Regions from separate parts of the Homo sapiens genome. Here region 1 is linked to region 2. Evidence: promoter capture Hi-C in human tissues and cell types (Jung and others, 2019). All regions are on one chromosome and are shown on one strand. The core of a region is centred on a gene start or on the middle of the fragment in contact, and the rest is flanking DNA. Distances in the headings are between cores, read along the strand shown.

Region 1 (5,187 bases), core at 2,688-5,187, 760 kb after region 2:
CTGGGAATAGTGGCTTATGCCTGTAATCCCAGCACTTTGGGAGGCCGAGGCGGGTGGATCACCTGAGGTCAAGAGTTCAAGACCAGCCTGGCCAACATGGTGAAACCCCAACTCTACTAAAAAAAATACAAAAATTAGCCAGGCATGGTGGCGGGTGCCTGTAATCCCAGCTACTTGGGAGGCCGAGGCAGGAGAAGCGCTTGATCCCAGGAGGTGGAGGTTGCAGTGAGCTGAGATTGTGCCACTGCACTCCAGCCTGGGTGACAAGAGTGAAACTCCATCTACAAAAAACCAAACAAAACAAAAACAAACAAACAAACAAAAAAAACCCTAAGAGGTTGTATACATTTATACAAATGTATGAAGCACATTAGGGAATTCTCACTGAGAAGTGTGAGGATAAGTGTTTTATGAATTGAGACATTTTAGAAGATTCAGGAAGTCAGCTATAACACTGTTAACTATCTCTACTTTTATTTTTCCAAAAACTGTTTTGGTATACTGTTTTTGTACCCCTGGTACTACAATGCCCAGTATTCTATTATTGCTTTGCTTCCTTTTGACTTAAGTAGAAGTTCCTGATTTCGTTACACTCAAGGACTGGAAATTTTTCTTTATAGAGTTAGTATGGCCTTCTTCGTGTTTGCAGATAGAAAACTATGAATAAATGTAGTAAAGAAAGATATTTATTTATTTATTTGAGATGGAGTCTCACTCTGTTGCCCAGGCTGGAGTGCAGTGGCGCAATCTCCACTCACTGCAACCTCTGCCTCCCAGGTTCAAGCAAGTCTCCTGCCTCAGCCTCCTGAGTAGCTGGGATTACAGGAGTCCACCACCATGCTCGGCTAATTTTTGTATTTTTAGTAGAGACAGGGTTTCACCCTGTTGGTCAGGCTGGCCTCAAACTCCTGACTTCATGATCCACCCACCTCAGCTTCCCAAGGTGCTGGGATTACAGGCTTGGGCCATCACACCTGGCAGAAAGATTATTTATTTATTTATTTGAGATGGAGTCTCCCTCTGTTGCTGAGGCTGGGGTGCAGTGGTACGATCTTGGCTCACTGCAACCTCTGCCTCCAGGGTTCAAGTGATTCTCGTGCCTCAGTCTCCCGAGTAGCTGGGACTACAGGTACCTGCCACCAGGCCCAGCTAATTTTTGTATTTTTAGTAGAGACAGGGTTTCACCATGTTGGCCAGGCTAGTCTCAAACTCCTGACCTCAAGTGATCTGCTTGCCTCGGCCTCCCAAAGTGCTGGGATTACAGGCGTGAGCCACTGCGCCTGGCCAGAAAGCAGATTTTTAAATTTGAGGTAAAGAAAGCTTAAACTTAAAAAGTTAATCAAATGCAATGGAAGCAAATAGACCTTCACCATTCTGATTTCCCATCACCAGAATGACCGATACATGGGGACTGTTGGTTCATCAATTATTTTGATTTATAAAGTTATAATATATAAGCCATATAAAAATTTCCAGTGAAGAAAAAAATGGAAAAAAGTAAAATGCTTTTGACTAAATCTAAAATGTACCTACTATGTGCTCAAATTTGTGTTTCATTAAATCATAGTTTGATGATTTAGAAGGCACTCTAAATCATCATATGTGATCAGGCACTGTATTGTAATTGTACTGTAGGATTTTCTACTTTAGGATCGTTGGGAGTGTTTGTTAATAGAGTCTGTTAGAATTCTAAACAAGAATCAGAGGTGATGTAATCTGACTTTCTTACCCTGCTAAATGGCAACCACTAGTACAGCTGTCTTGGTAACAGTGGGGGATTCATTAGGACCTTCTTCAGATACCACAGATATCAAGATCTGCAGATGCTCAAGTCTCTGATATAAAATGATATAGTATTGGCATAAAACCTATGCATATCCCCCCTCTATACTTTAAATAATCTCTAGATTACTTACAATATCTGACGCTACGTAAACAGTTGTTATATCACATTGTTTAGGGAATAAGGACAAGAAAAAAATGTCTGTACATGTTCTATACAGACACGATTTTTTTCTGAGTATTTTCAATCTGCAGTTGGTTGAAATATGGAACCCATGGATATGGAGGGCTGACTGTAATTCATCCTACTAAGAGGTGGAGTCTTCTACTGAAGAACAGAAAAGAAATCTGTAACAGCAAAAAACAAAGCCAAGACTATCAAAACTAAATGCCACAGAAGTTCCACATTTTGTGTTGCATTTAAAAATACAAAGACCGGCCGGGTGCAGTGGCTCACGCCTGTAATCCTAGCACTTTGGGAAGCCGAGGCGGGCGGACTTCCTAAGCTCAAGAGTTCGAGACCAGCCTGGGCAACACGGTGAAACCCCGTCTCTACTAAAATACAAAAAACAGCCGGGTTTGGCGGCGTTCGCCTGCAGTCCCAGCTACTCGGGAGGCTGAGGCAGGAGAATTGCTTGAACCCGGGAGGCAGAGGTTGCAGTGAGCCGAGATCGCGCCACTGCACTCCAGCCTGGGCGACAGAGCAAGACTACGTCTCCAAACAGCAACAACAAAAACACAAAAGACCAATACGTTAGAATCTTAACTAGCTTTCAAAGAAAAAACTTACTCCTGTTAACACCAAACAGATTTGCTCCCATCTATAAAACACAGTGCCACTGTGCTCAAGAGGAAGATGTCAGAGACTTAGGCCTAACTCGGCAAGTCTTCCCAGAGTAGCTAGTCCTCTAAAATGATGCTTTAATAGGCTTAACGGAAACAATCTCATTTACAGTGAGGCTTCCAAATGGTGAACACGGTAAAGAGCAAATCAGCAACATTAAGTGCACATTTGTTTGTGGGAAGGCATTAGGAAAGAGGTTTTTCTAAGTACAGTAATTCTAAAAATGTGTTTTCTTAGGGAACAATAGTAATATTTAGACTAATTGCAAATGTTAATATGTGCAATATAATTTCAGTCTCCATCCTACATATACATTTTTTTTTACCACCAGTACTCAAAATGTTTATTTGTACTTCTCAATTCCTATCAATGATTTCTAATGCTGGTGTATGAAAAGCATGCTTGAAATTGTTTGAAATAAAGGACTTAGGGACAGAGTGGAATGCTGGAAATCTGTAAAAGGACTGGAAACGCTGGAATGCTGGAAATCATGGTAGGCGCATAGCCAGTTATTTTCGTAGGCTTCTCTATCTCTAATTACTCAGCAGAGGTGGTTTTATTTTCCTTGACAGTCTGCTCTAGGAAGCAATCAGCCAACCAGTTTGCAATTGTAGGGTTTGTAAGAAATGAAAAACACTGCACCTGCAAGTGTTTTAGCATCTACCACTATTCGGCTTACTTACGTAACCTCCTTCCCAAGACCAAGTCAGTAGGATTGTTTTTAAAGCAACCTCTCCATTTCTAGGAGGGGCACAAAAGCTAGCAAATACCCCAACCCGAATACAAGCGAGGTTGTGGAGAAAGTAATGAAGGAGTTTGTGTGCAAACAGCGGGGAAAGGAGGTTCTGTTGAATTGTACCGTGTGTCCGTTCTCGTGCTGTACAGGCAATGAGTGTAGTCTGTGCGAACCGGGTGTGTGACGTTTGCTTTTCGGGTGTACGGGTCTCCGAATGCTGCTTCTGCTGTGCTCACCAAGGGAGCGCGTGTGCGGCGTGTGTCTGCGAAGCGGGCAGGTTGTGTTTAGTTGTGCTGTGCCTTGGAACAGTCCGTGTGAACAGAGGAGGGCTTACGGTTAACAGACAAAATACCGTAAGCGCCCTTCCTAGAGCCAGGCACAGAGACAACGGCGGCCTCTGGCGCCGGCACAAGGGACAGCGTGGCCCGGATCTCAGAGCCTGGGTCACTCCTCCTCCCCTCCAGCGACACAGCACTCCCCCAACCCTTCCGCCCACCTCCGCCGAGCCTCGGCTGCACTCACCTCTCTCCAGCCGCACGGGTTCCCCTAGCGCCGCCATCTTCTCCCTTAACCTACAGACCCACAGGAAATGACGACAGAAGGGCTGAGGTGGGGGGGCGGGGCCTAGGGGAAGCCGGAAAAGTGAGTACCGGCTAGTATCGCGAGATCAGGAAGGTGGCCGAGTGTGTCGCCGCGGCCATCAGGGTAAGGGTACCTGGACTTGCGGCTTTTTAGGTCGGCCTGGCTCCGCTCCTTCCGCGGTGACGAGGTCCCCCGGCCTCCTAGGGTTGGGAAGAGCTGCTTTCCTGACTCTCGTTCCCTGCCTCAGGCTTCCCTTATCCCAATCGCTTCGAACCCTTGGCTCAGCGTAGAGGAGTCAAGCCTGGATTCTAGTCCCACCTTGCCCATTAGCAGCTCTGTGACCTGGGACTGTTCACTTACCCTCTCTCAGCCTCAGTTTCCGCATCTGTACAACGAGAGGTCCTATCTCTTAGGTCCTTACAATTTTTAAACTCTGGGATTCGGTGGCAATTAAATGTGTAATGACATGTTGTCAGTTCTCAATTTGTGACAGCATTGCTTTAAATTTAAAAATCCACGGCTTGAATCTTCCCTCCAAATCTGTTAAGGGGTGGAAAGTACAAAGAGCATGAAACATATCTGGGTGAGGGAGAGAACAAGGTGCTTTGGTGCACCACAAAGTAACAATTTTATAAGCAGCTGATTCTTATAAAATCTTAAGTAAATGAAATATTGTGAAGCAAATAATATTCTTAATGCATTACAGATTTTTGAGCCACTTCTGAAATTTTCGCGAACCAAGAAGAATTTTAGTACTTGGATTTGACTAACATTTATCCAAGCCCTTAGTCTGTACTGATACTGTGGTAGGTGTGTTTACATCCAGCATTTCAACACTTCATGATGGGACTGTTTTAATAACCTGTTTGCCCCTGGTCCACCCTTTCCATTCACCTTTAGTATTTTCTTCTCCAAATCCATCATGGATGCCACCACTATGCTCCTTTTTCTCCCCTTGAATTCTGATTTCATCATCACAAGTTCTGTTCAGAAACTTTCAATGGTTTCTCTCCTGTTTCCTATTTCTAAAGCCTTGCATACTCTGACCCTAACTCATCCAACTAACTTCATTTCTCATTACCACTAAGTGCAACCACCACTTCAGTCCAGATAGTATAGTTTCAACCATATTTATTCCTGATTCCAAGTCTTTTTGTTTGTTTTAGAGACAGAGTTTCTCTCTGTTGTCCAGACTGGAGTGCAGTGGTGCAATCACAGCTCAAGAGAGCCTCCTGTCTCAGTC
Region 2 (4,865 bases), core at 70-2,569:
GTTATGGTGTGTGCTTACTGTCTGCCAGGAGCCAGAAGTAGACTGGATGTGAACCTCAGCTGTTAGGCTGAGATATCCTTCTAACTTACTTTGACTCTTACTCTGAAATCTCTTAAACTCACCCCACCTTCTGCATCCCAAGGGCATTCATTATGGTTCTTTCTCTCACATTCATAAGCCTTTGCATCATGCATTCTAATTTACAAAGCATTTTGCAGTGCCTGTTAACCAATCTCTCTACCGCAGGTGCCCATCCATTCTAATCCATCCTGCACACCTATACAGTGTAATTTTCTTAAAATACCATTTTCATCTTGCTCAAGAACCTCTATCTGTCATTTTAAGGTGAAACATCTCGTCTAAAACTTCAACAACTTTCAGTAGCTAGCATCATCTTACTTCTACAAATAATTCCTCTCTTTAATTTTCAACATGAATCTTCCTCTTCAGTAGTTGCCCTAATTTTTCTCCAGCAGTGCTGTCTTCTTTTCTGCTTCCACATGTAGTTTATGCAGTTTCTATTACCTTGAACACCAGCCTAGTTTTCTCCTCCAATTAAAATCCTATTCAATTTTAAAGACTCAATTAATCTACAGTTCTTTCACAAAGGTTCTGAATCTCAGAGACTGTTCCTAACTATACTTGTTTTTTTTTTTTTTTATCATTTTCTCTAACTAGATTATGTGTTTCTTAATGACAGGCATGATATTGCATCATCTCTTGGGTCTGCCATGTTAGTAAGCCCAGCATTGAGAGATATTATAAAATTAGTAGAAACTTATTGAGCCTCAATCACTCCAAACAATTATCAAGTACTCAGCCAGAGGCCATATGTTTTAGAATTAGTAAAATGAAAGACCTAAGAAACTCCAGAAACTCTAATGGCCTGACTTCCACTCAAGCATTTCAAGATAATACTGAATCAAATTTGTAATACAATCAGAGTCCCCAACACTCTAGAGAGATGAAGATATTCATGGGCTTTGCTCAGTTACCATAAACTATAATTCAATATGGTCATGAGGAAGTATTTCCATAAACACTGTCAAAAAGAATGAATTTGGGTTTTTTAATTCCCGTTTTTCCATTGCTATTACTAATAACTGAGGCAAGAATCAACAGTGTATGCTAAAAGCAATGGGTGAAATTTTGATGGACTCAGGATTAGAATATTTCTCTGGTCTCAGAATGTCTCACCACAGATTATTAATTACTTATGAATAAAAAAATGACAACTATACAGTGTAAAAACTTGGTAAACACCACTAGTCAAGTAATCAAAGCTAACATTACCAATTCGTTACAGGCCAACCTGATACCAGATGCATGCCCCATGATGGAGTGCACTAAAATGACACAGCATCATTCATGTGGTATTTCTGCCAAAAATGCATCACCTGAATCTCATCATGAGGAAAAAAAAATCAGAAAATCCCACATTGAGGGACTTCCTGTAGAAACTGTCCTATACTCTTCAAAAATGTCAGTTTCATAGCAGAGAAAGGAGATTGAAGAAGAATGAAAACAAAATGCAATGACTGATCCTGGGTGGGATTTTTTTTTTCTGTGAAGGATAGTTTGGGAAGAACTATTGAAATATGTATATTAGATGATAGTATTGTATCATTGATAATTTCCTAAACTTGCTAGTTGCATTGCGATTATAAATGAATATCCTTGTTCTTAGAAGCTACTTTCTGAAGTATGAAGGGTCATAATGCCTGTCATTTGTTTAAAATTTCATAAATAATTATTATGGTATTCATCTATGTGTAGCAATAAATATAGATATATTGAGAGAAATGTCATGATGTCATAATTAAAGACAATATAAGTTTCATTGTACTAATTCTTGTGAGCCTTGTTTAACTCATCATTGTGGTAGCCAAAATAGTAGCCCCCTAAAAATGTCCACATTCTATGTGAATATGTTAAGGTGCATGGCAAAGAGTAATTAAGATTGCTGATGGAATTAAGATGGTAAATTAAACTGGAGATAGGCAAATTATCCTAGATTATCCCAGAGGGCTTTATGGAATCACTGGAGTCCTTATAAAAGCAGAAGAGGTACGCAGAACAGGGAGAAAAGGAGAGATGGTGACATGGGAAGGACTTAGCCTGACATCAGTGGCTTTGAAGATGGAGAAAGGGCCCACTAGCCAAGGAATACAGATTGGCTCTAGAAGTTGGAAAAGGCAAGGAAATAGATTCTTCCCTGGAGCCTCTAGAAGGAATGTGACCTGCGACATGCTGATTTTAGCTTAGTGGGACCAATTTCAGACTTTTGACCTAGAGAATTGTGAGATAATAAATTTATTATCTAAGCCACTAAGTTTCTTGAAGTTCTTACAGCAGCAATAGAAAACTGATACACTCCTTTTTTTTCTGTAAAATTAAAGTTTGAAAAAAAGCAGCGTATGTGTAGAATGCTTTCTAAGAACCCCAGCTCTAGAGGCAGGCTGTTGAATCAGGGGAGGTAAAAGATTGTCTAAAGGGTTTGTAATTTTTCGGAAACTTGATTTTTAACACAAATGAAGATGAAGAACTATTCTCAGAGTAGTACAACTGCAAATCAACACAAAATAGAAATAAAATGGAATCAACAGAAAATGAGACAGGAAGAGAGAATAAAGCTTTAGCCTGAGTCTTCTTTGGCATTTGTCAAGAGAGGGACAAAGGAAAAGGAGATAGTTTATATTTACGTATGTATTTATACACATGTAACATTATACATATATTTACTTTATTTACATAGTATGTATTTTATTTATGCTTATTTTATTATATTGCAATTATATATATTATATACATATACACACACACACACACATATAACACCCACACACACATATATATGTGTGTATGTGTACATATTGTATCTTTTGGGATGTGTGAAATGTTGAAAAGGGGACTGAATTCTAGTCTAGCTTTTGTCATCTTAGTTTGGTAAAACTGGGAAATATTGGGCTAGTTCAAAGTTAATTGCGGTTTTTGCCATTAAAAGTAATAATACAAGTGCTCTGAGCTTCAGACTCCTCAACTCTACCAAAAAAAAAAAAAATCACACTTATCTTGATGATTGCTGTGAGAATTAAATGAAAAAGAGTACAAACACCTAAAAGAGGGTTAGTATAAAATGTGTGATCAATATACAGAACCATCAATGCATTTATTATTGTTGCTACTTACACTGGTGCTTCTACTACCGTTGTTGGTACTTGGCTGTATCCACTTTGTTCTTTCATCATTCAGCCCCTCTTCATCAACTACTTTCTATTTTATTTTTATTTCTTTTCTTTTCTTTTGTCCTTAGTAAGATGCCAAAAACACAAGTGTATTTACAGGGCTATGTTCCAAAGTTCCACCTGGGCTGCTATGCTGACACTGCTTTCTTTGTCTGCCTCTTACAGGTAGGCGTTTCTTAACCTCTAGCCCCTGGCCCTCTTTTGTTGTCAAACTATATTTATTTTCTGGATGGCCTTTTTATTCTGATTACTTAAGATACTGTGTCACTATTGAGGACATCTTAATTTACGTATCCAATTGAGTTCCATGTCTAAGTCACATCCTCAAAGTCACAGAAAGGCAGAAATGTAAATTAGACCCTTGAGAGGCTTCTAAGGGAAAGAAGAAAAACTGGGAGGAATGGTGGCTTAAGAAAAATATCGGACGAAGCAAAACTAGTTTTGTCATATTTTTTGCTTTTGTTGTATTTTAGGGATAATGGAGTTTTTAGTACTTTGTATACTAGGAGGAAGTTGCTGAAGAAAATAATCAAAATAAAAGAAAGATGACTGAAGAGGCAAGATATCAGGGGATATTTAGAGGGAGAACTTAGTATGATGTCTGAGTATGATAAGTCAATAAGAACACAAATTCTCAGAATTGAATTTGAAGGAGGAGAGGAGGAGTCAGCTACAGATGCATTGAAAGTTAGAGAAACTCACTTCTTTGAATTTTTTGTTTCCAAAAACTGCAGCCTTCAGGAACTGGTTGACAGTTGGTCATATAGTATGTCTGAGGAGCCTATGTTGGAAGAGATTTGATGTTTTTTTCCAGTAATTTCAATGTTTTAGTAATTTTGATATTGATTATTTGACCAAGGAGCCATCTGCCATCAGATAAAATGACACAAGGCAATTTGAAGCCCACCATGCCTTTTCCTCAAATATTGGAAAAGCAAATGAATAGATGAATATTGTGTGTGTTTGAATAAAGCCTCCAGACACAATTTTTTGCACATGATGAAATTCTAAGACATCTTTATAATATAGTCTCTGTTGGCTTAATACACAGAGACCTTCTGTGTGGCTGCCTCTACCGGGGTCTGGAAAACGTCGTCAGTGTGCAGCAAACACACACAGTAAGATGCACTGTGAATTTCTAAGAGTCTCCAAAGACTGAAGACAGTAAGTCATTCAGAGTCATGTTAATGGCAAAGCTGCCAGAAATGGGCCACACACCCTAATTCAAATGACCCTTTCTTCATAAAAAGTCATAAAAAATGACCGTATAAGAACCCAATTCTTCTCGAATGCATGAATAGGATTTGTATGTATAATCTATGGACTACAGTTTGAAACAAGTCTAATATGACCCAGCTGTGTTGCATAATAAAACTGACAATGAAAGCACGGTCTAAGAGACCACCAGATGGCAGCCTCTTCATGTTTAACTCCTGTGGTTACCCCTAGACCTGCTGGATTTTGTTTATTTTTAGGGCCCAGGACTTCAGAGTAGAGGAAAGGATTAGAAGTAGGAATTCAGTCAAAGGCCACAGACAGGTAAAAAGAAATGGATTTTCTTTTTTAAGTTTGTTTTTTATTTTATTTATTTTGTTTTGTATTCAGAAAGATGCTGAAATC

What was found. The method cuts DNA at HindIII sites, captures the fragments that hold promoters and counts their contacts. A contact is called where the count stands out against the background at its distance.
Region 1: a contact is called between the fragment with the promoter of LIN7C here and a fragment that was not itself captured in region 2, in 1 of the 25 tissues and cell types used here (heart right ventricle).

The regions. Positions count from the first base shown.
Region 1 is chr11:27,502,832-27,508,018 of GRCh38, forward strand. It overlaps LIN7C (lin-7 cell polarity scaffold C), which reads right to left and starts at 3,938. Exons shown (of 5, transcript NM_018362.4): 1 at 3,885-3,938. The coding sequence starts at 3,921. BDNF-AS (BDNF antisense RNA) reads left to right here and starts at 4,021. Exons shown (of 7, transcript NR_033315.1): 1 at 4,021-4,067. RefSeq lists enhancers at 3,499-4,698, 3,855-3,984, 4,055-4,344. The HindIII fragment of the contact is 14,064 bases long and covers 1-5,187 here.
Region 2 is chr11:26,749,413-26,754,277 of GRCh38, forward strand. No RefSeq gene overlaps it. Among named protein-coding and RNA genes, the nearest start is that of SLC5A12, 30 kb to the left of the region's middle. The HindIII fragment of the contact is 6,078 bases long and covers 1-4,358 here.